2 separate regions of the Homo sapiens genome follow, and region 2 is linked to region 1. The links are contacts of gene promoters, found by promoter capture Hi-C in human tissues and cell types (Jung and others, 2019). All regions are on one chromosome and are shown on one strand. Each heading gives the region's core, a stretch centred on a gene start or on the middle of the fragment in contact. The rest is flanking DNA. Distances are from core to core; before and after follow the strand shown. Region 1 holds the start of CYP19A1 (cytochrome P450 family 19 subfamily A member 1). Region 2 overlaps CYP19A1 (cytochrome P450 family 19 subfamily A member 1).

What was found. The method cuts DNA at HindIII sites, captures the fragments that hold promoters and counts their contacts. A contact is called where the count stands out against the background at its distance.
Region 2: a fragment that was not itself captured here is called in contact with the fragment with the promoter of CYP19A1 in region 1 in 2 of the 25 tissues and cell types used here (adrenal gland and lymphoblastoid cells).

What each region holds. Positions count from the first base shown.
Region 1 is chr15:51,336,826-51,340,196 of GRCh38, reverse strand. CYP19A1 (cytochrome P450 family 19 subfamily A member 1) reads left to right here and starts at 1,601. Exons shown (of 10, transcript NM_000103.4): 1 at 1,601-1,702. RefSeq lists cis regulatory regions at 1,295-1,324, 1,389-1,406, an enhancer at 1,358-1,437 and promoters at 1,358-1,676, 1,099-1,676. The HindIII fragment of the contact is 2,870 bases long and covers 1-1,722 here.
Region 2 is chr15:51,266,651-51,270,024 of GRCh38, reverse strand. The region is part of intron 1 of CYP19A1 (cytochrome P450 family 19 subfamily A member 1); the gene reads left to right. The region is part of intron 1 of MIR4713HG (MIR4713 host gene); the gene reads right to left. Among named protein-coding and RNA genes, the nearest start is that of MIR4713, 26 kb to the right of the region's middle. RefSeq lists an enhancer at 2,526-3,159. The HindIII fragment of the contact is 4,024 bases long and covers 1-3,374 here.

The DNA of each region.
Region 1 (3,371 bases), core at 352-2,851:
GTATTGGTGGTGGAGCCCAGTGGGAGGTGACTGGATCATGGGAGTGGTCCTTCATGAATGGTTTAGCACCATCCCCTCAGTGCTGTTCTCATGATAGTGAGTTATCATGAGATCTGGTTGTTTAAAAGTGTGTAGCATCTCTCCTGGCCCCTCTTCCTCCTGCTCCCACCATGTGAGATGTTCCTGCTCCTGCTTTGCCTTCCTCCATGAGTAAAAGCTCCCTGAGGCCTCCCCAGATGCAGGTGCTGCCATGCTTCCTGTTCAGCCTGTGGAACCATGAGCCAATTAAACTTCTTTTCTTGTAAGTTACCCAGTCTCGGGCTTTTCTTTATAGCAAGGCAAGAATGGACTAATACACATACCAATTCTTGCAGGTAGGATTTTTTGGCACAGGAGAGAAAGCTGAGTAGTATCAGACTTCTTGCCCCCTACTCTCCAGGGTGAGCCAGGGTAGAGCCTCTGAGAATGCACAAGGAAACTGAAGTGACATCTCAATCAGAAATTCTGAGTCAAAGTTTAGATTCCTGAGTTTTAATAGGAACATTGACCAACTTCAGTATTCTTAGAAGAGCATACAGGATAAGAAGAAATTAGGAAAGCATGAAGGTCCAAGTGTTTCATAAAGTACCCCCACTGTGGGGATATGATGACTGGGAGGGGATGGCAGTGATGTAAAAAGCTTTGTCCATTTCCTCCCAACTCAAACGTTCTGTGACCTACTTGAAGAACTGTCATGTATCCTTATCTCTTTTCATCCAGGTATCAGGTTTAGGGCCAATGGGGAGGAGCCACTGAGAGGGAGGGTTGACACTCAGCATCATTCAGATCTTCATTTAATTCAGTAAACACTTAACTGAGCACTTCCTGTGCCTGGTATGATAATGGGCATTGGAGATACGGAAGTAAAAAAGACAGGCAGATTACCCTGTGAGCAGCTGGAACACCGTGGAGCCTTCTGGGCTTCTCTTTATCCTAACATTCATTGCAGTTACTGTTGACTGATCATCTCTCAGCAATACCCACCATTAACCATGGAATAGAAGCCTCCTGAGGCTAGGGGCCATGTCACCCCCAACACATAGCACAGTTCCTGATTTGGAATTCACTATTACCCGTTGAATAAATGAGTGAATGAACGAATGAATAAATGAAAAGCTGTATAGTGAAGGCACTTCTATGTAGAACAATGTGGTGTGTGGTGGGGGGTGTGATCTTATGATTACATGTATATAGATTTTTGTCCATGGTTCTTGTCCATAACTCCCATGACACTTGCTGAGGTCTTTTGCTATAATGTAGAGGTGCTTTAGGCCTCAGGAAACAGAATATTTCTCTGGCCTTCTTTGCCCTCCTTTCATCCACCCAAGGCGGGACTCTATAATCTGATTGTGGGTCATAAGACCCTCATTCCAGAGGAGGTCATGCCCCATACCCTGGAGGAAGGAATGCTGCACAAAGAGAGGAAGAAGAATCTGGACAGACAGACCTTGCTGAGATTAGATCATACCCTTTTTGTCCAATCACATTTTGTTCAATCACATGCTTCAGTCATGGACAACAAATGAAATCTCCATAAAAGGCCCAAAGGACAGGGTTCAGGGAGTTTCTGGAGGGCTGAACACGTGGAGGCAAACAGGAAGGTGAAGAAGAACTTATCCTATCAGGACGGAAGGTCCTGTGCTCGGGATCTTCCAGACGTCGCGTATGTATCTCTTAATCTGACTGAGCCCTCAACCTGTGGGATCAGACACTCTTTCCAGGTAGATAGTGTTGGAACTGAGTTGGAGGACACCCAGCTGGTGCCCGCTGCTTGGTGTGTGGGGGAAAATCCCCTACATTTGGTCGCAGAAGTCTTCTGTGTTGATGACTGTTGTCGTGGTGTGAGAGCAGAGGGAAAACACTGCTTGAGTGTTTTTCTGAAATAGGAGGGCCTAAGAACTATACTGTTCTATGCCACAGAACTGGCCCCCTACTTTCCTTGAAAGGCTGGCTATCCAATGGTGAGGAGAGGAAGTGGTAGCCTGAACCAGCCTCCCCATTTCCCCACCTCCCACCCCAGTTCAGAGCCCAGATCCAGTAGACAGAGCAGAGATGAGGCCTGCTTGGAGCCAGGCAGGCTCTATTAGACAACTTCAGGCCAAGAAGCTGCCCCTCTTGGGATGCAGGACTCAAAAGGCTTGTAGCATGGCCACCCCGTGGGCTGGGTTGGTGGAAAGCCTGGGATATTGCTCTGGGGCAAGAGGGGCAGAAGGAAGCGCAAATGAAAAGCCAGACTCCTTTCCTACCAGACTCCACTGTCAGATCCCTCTCCAACTCTTCCTGTGTGGGATGATGGCATTTTTCACAGAAGAAGGGGGACATGTTGATATGGCCTACAAGGTAGACATCTTCACTCATCTCTCACCCTAAAGTGGCTGTGCCCAAGCAGCTGCCATGCTCTGCCCTCTTTCCTCTTCTCCTCTATCTTCTCTCTCCAACCCTCTTTCCACCGCAGTGCCACACAGTGACCTATCTCCATCACTGGCCTATTTCAGTGTTGCCCACTTTAAGGCCTAACTCCGAGTACCCTTCCTCATCTAGCCTTGACTTCCTAGGCCAGTCCCAAGCACTGTGAGCTCTACAAGCTGCAGGGGCTCTGTGGTTATGCACCTGGGCTTTGGAATCAGACCTGACCTTGAAACTGTTTTTTAACTGCATGACTTTAGATATGCTACTCAAGTTCTTTAAAGAGACTGTAATTGTATCTATTTCATAGGGTTGTGAAGCTTTAATAAGAAAATACTTGTAAAGCACTTGTATAATAAATGTTCAACACGGGTTGGTATTGTTGGATATGGGCCATATGAACTGGCTGAGACTTACACTGTGTGTGCCTTGTGCTGTTAGTTGACACTTTAGTTCTTCTGTGCCTTGTGCTGTTAATCGACATCTTAGTTCTTCCACATCCTATTTCTTCAGTTGGGTTACAATATTCTTAAGGCAGGGACCTATCTTAACTGTCCTCTCACAGCAGGGACTTGTGCCAAGTAGGAATATTTGATTAATGGATTCATTAGCTAATCACACTTTGTAGATGCTTTTTGAGGAACAGAACTTTTGAATGCACGATAAACTTGGGTTCTCGTCTGAATACCATGGCTTTGAGGTTGGTTATATGGAGCCTTTCAGTGTGAATCCCTAAGCCTCTTGAGATTTCTTGAGAGGCAGATATGCCTGCATAGCCTGCCCTGCCTGATACTTCACAGAATGGGCTGCTACTTTTTACTTATTATTAAAAAAAAAAAAAAGCTATCAATCTGGCCTGTTTTGTTGACACAGGAGGCTCAGGATATAATGCGGACACAGGGAGATATCTCAATTCCCTTTTTTTG
Region 2 (3,374 bases), core at 671-3,170, 70 kb after region 1:
TTCCATTTAAAATTTCAGCAGACTTTTTGGGGTAGAATTTCAGTGTGTGTTTGTTAGGAACCTTTAAGAAGCAGTTGGCAAGACTGCATTAAACATACAAGAGGTTTACAGGGGCAAATGACTGGGAAAGATAAAAAGGGAGGGAGCGGGAGTAGGCCAAAAAGCTTTCAGTCCCCAGTGTAGTCTGGAATCTGTGAAAGAAGAGAGGGAAGGGCGAGTTGTGTGGAAAGGGCTTCAGACAACAGTATAGCTCTGAGACAGTTTCAGTCAGCAGTAGGGAACCCCCAAGCAAAGATTGCCTGTTGGAAGAGTCCTGCCTTGGCTGGAATGGGCTACCACTAGTACCCTTAGCATGCTTGTCATTGTTTAGGAGCTACCCAGAGAAATATGGCCTTTCTGTGAACATGGTGGTGAATCCATAGGGTGGAACTGTCAACTATGCTCCAAATAGTAGTAGTAGTGGTAGTTGTTGTTGTTTTAAGGAGATTTGAGCAGTCCACCTCCATGGCAACCCCATAAAGTAATTTAAAAAAAAAAGAACCAAGTTGGAGAGCTCATCCTCCAATTTACTAATCTTGCTTTTATATTTCAAGACCTACTATAGCTATAGTAATCAAAATAGTTTTGTGTTGGCAAAAAATAAACATATAGATTAATGGAACAGAACAGAAAATCCAGAAATAGACCCATGCATATATTGCCAATTTTTAATAAAAGTACTAAGACAATTCAATTTGAGGGGGGAAAAGGGCCTTTTCAAAAAAACGGTGCTGGATATATCCATAAGAAAGAAAAAATAATAACCCTATTAACCCTTACCTCATACCATATACAAAATTTAACTCAAAATGGATCATAGACCTACATATAAAACCTAAAACTATTACACTTACAGAAGAAAAGAGGAGGTGACCTTGGAGTAGACAAAGGTCTCTCAGAACACAAAAAAAGTAGGAGCCATAAAGACACTTGACAAACTTGATCAAAAATTTAAAACTTAATCCTCAATAGACACAAAGAAAATAAAGCAGAGCACAGACTAAGATAAAGTATTCAAAACAACACGTATCAGACAACTCGAATCCAGAATATATATATATTAAAAAAGTCAATAAGACAACCCCATTTTTTTAAATGGGAAAAAAGATTTGGCCAGATGCTTCATAAAAGATATATGAATGGCCAGTAAGTTCATTTGAAAATGCTCAAAATTATTAATAATCAGGAAAATGCAAATTAAGATCGCAATCAGATACCTCTAGAATGGCTAAAATTCAAAGACTGAGAATGTGAAGCAACTGTAACTCTCATATACTGCTGATGGGAATGCAGTGGAACCTCGGAAGATAATTTGGCAGTTTCTTAAAAAGTTAAATATACACCTGCTATACAGCCACTGTTAGATTTTTACTCAAGAGAAGTGAAATATATGTCCACACAAAGACTTGTGCACTGACATCCATCATAGCCTTGCTTGAAACAGCCAAAAAAAAAGGGGGGGGGGGAAGGAAACGATGGAAATGCTCCTTAAGAAGTGAATGGGTAAACTGTGGCATAGCTATGCAATTGAGTACTGCTCAGCAATGTTAAGGAACAAACTATTGATATGAACAATAAGAATGAAACTCAAAATCAATATGCTAAGTAAAAGAAGCCAGATGAAAAAGAGTACAGACTGTTTGATTATGACAATAGAATTCCAGAAAGCACGAACTGATCAATAATGACAGGGAGCAAATCAGTGGTTATCAGGGGATGGGTGTGGAGGAAGGATGGGTGACAAGTGGGTGATGGAAATTAAATGCCACCTTGATTTTGTAATGGTTTCACAAGTGCATGTGTATATGTTAGAGCTCATAAAATAGTACACTTTAAATATTTGAGGTTTATTGCATGTTACTTATGCTTTGGCGAAGTCCTTTAAATGGGATGGGGGAGGGTGGGTCTGATGGAAGGAAAGCAACCCCACCTCTACAGTAAAAAGATTTGACACGTGCTCTGGAGGAAACCTAGGGGAAAGTGATATGGTACTTTGCTTTCATATTTATCTACTTAGTATCTGCTTCTTCCCCAGGGTGGGGAGGGGCGAAGGCGGAGCAATGCCTAGTGCCAACCAGTTGTGGCGTTCAGGCTCCTTCCAGTGCTCTCGCCTGCTAAGCTGGGGTGGGCACAGGGAAGACCCTTCCCCGGGGCATGGGGAGCCGGCAGGGCTGGTTTCAATGGCAATCCGCCATAGGGTCCCGCGCTCAGAAGGGGTCCCGCTTGGAATCTAATGAATGCTCTGCAGTCACCATATGAAATTCTTAATCATTTTTCCTTCAAATTCGTGTATTGTAAGTGAAGTGCAATAACACAGTGGATGCTTGAGAGCTTGGACTCTTGTCTCACCCCGGTCGCGTCTCCTGCGTCTTCCTGGGACAGGTTCTGGGCCCCCACCCGGCGAACACCGCTGCCCTCCGCCCTGGGCAGTGGCCGGCCACGGACGTGGGGGCGGCGCAGACCTCGGCGTACAGCCAAGGGACCTCGCCGCCACGCTGGGTCGCCTGTGAGGGTCGGCCTTTGGCCCGCCAGCGTCCCTGTGCTCAAGCCAGCGCAACTTAACTAGCAAATAAACCCTGCCGAGACAGGTGGACAGAAAGACCACGGGAGAAAGGGAAAGGCTTTTTCCTGCTTTTTGAACGCGGGGCCCCGCGTTTTTATTTTGCACTGGGCCGCGCAGATTCTGCGGGCGGCACCGACCGCAGGCAGCCGGCTGGAGACCGCTCGCCGCACCCCCTGCCTCGCCTAGTGCCCGAGCTGCTCCAGCTGTGAATGGGACACAATACGAGGAGCTGGTTTTGCTCCTGAAAGCGTCCAACAAAAATCTGGCTCGATTCGCCCTGCTTGGGAGTGACAGAGACCCAATCTTTGTCATGAAAAGCAGGAAACGGGAGGGCAGCTTTGCTCTCCAGAGCAGGGAATGTGTCTGGGTAGAAGCAGGGAAAGTTCCTGCCCACCTCAGATTTTCTTCTGGATGCAGACTGCCCTGTTCTTTGACTTCCTCTCCAGTGTGGAATAAGGCTGAGGGTCTCAATTTGGTGAAAAAAGTAACCATGACAACAGTCACATCGTGGAGAGCATAGTAAAATGTGTAAAGCTCACTGGCAATGCCTTCCCTTCCAGAATGAAAGCTCCTCTAGTCAGACAACGACTCAACGGCACCAAAAGAGCGGAAGGGAAGACCAGACCAGGGAAGGCTTTCCGTGCCCTGCCCTGGGGCCTTCCACAGATTAGGGGACCTCCGTGATTTGTCAGCTCTTTGCCTCCAGCTTTCTCACACGGTCCGGGGCTGCTTTCGAGAGCTTATACTAAAAGGGCAAGAGCAGAGATGAGCT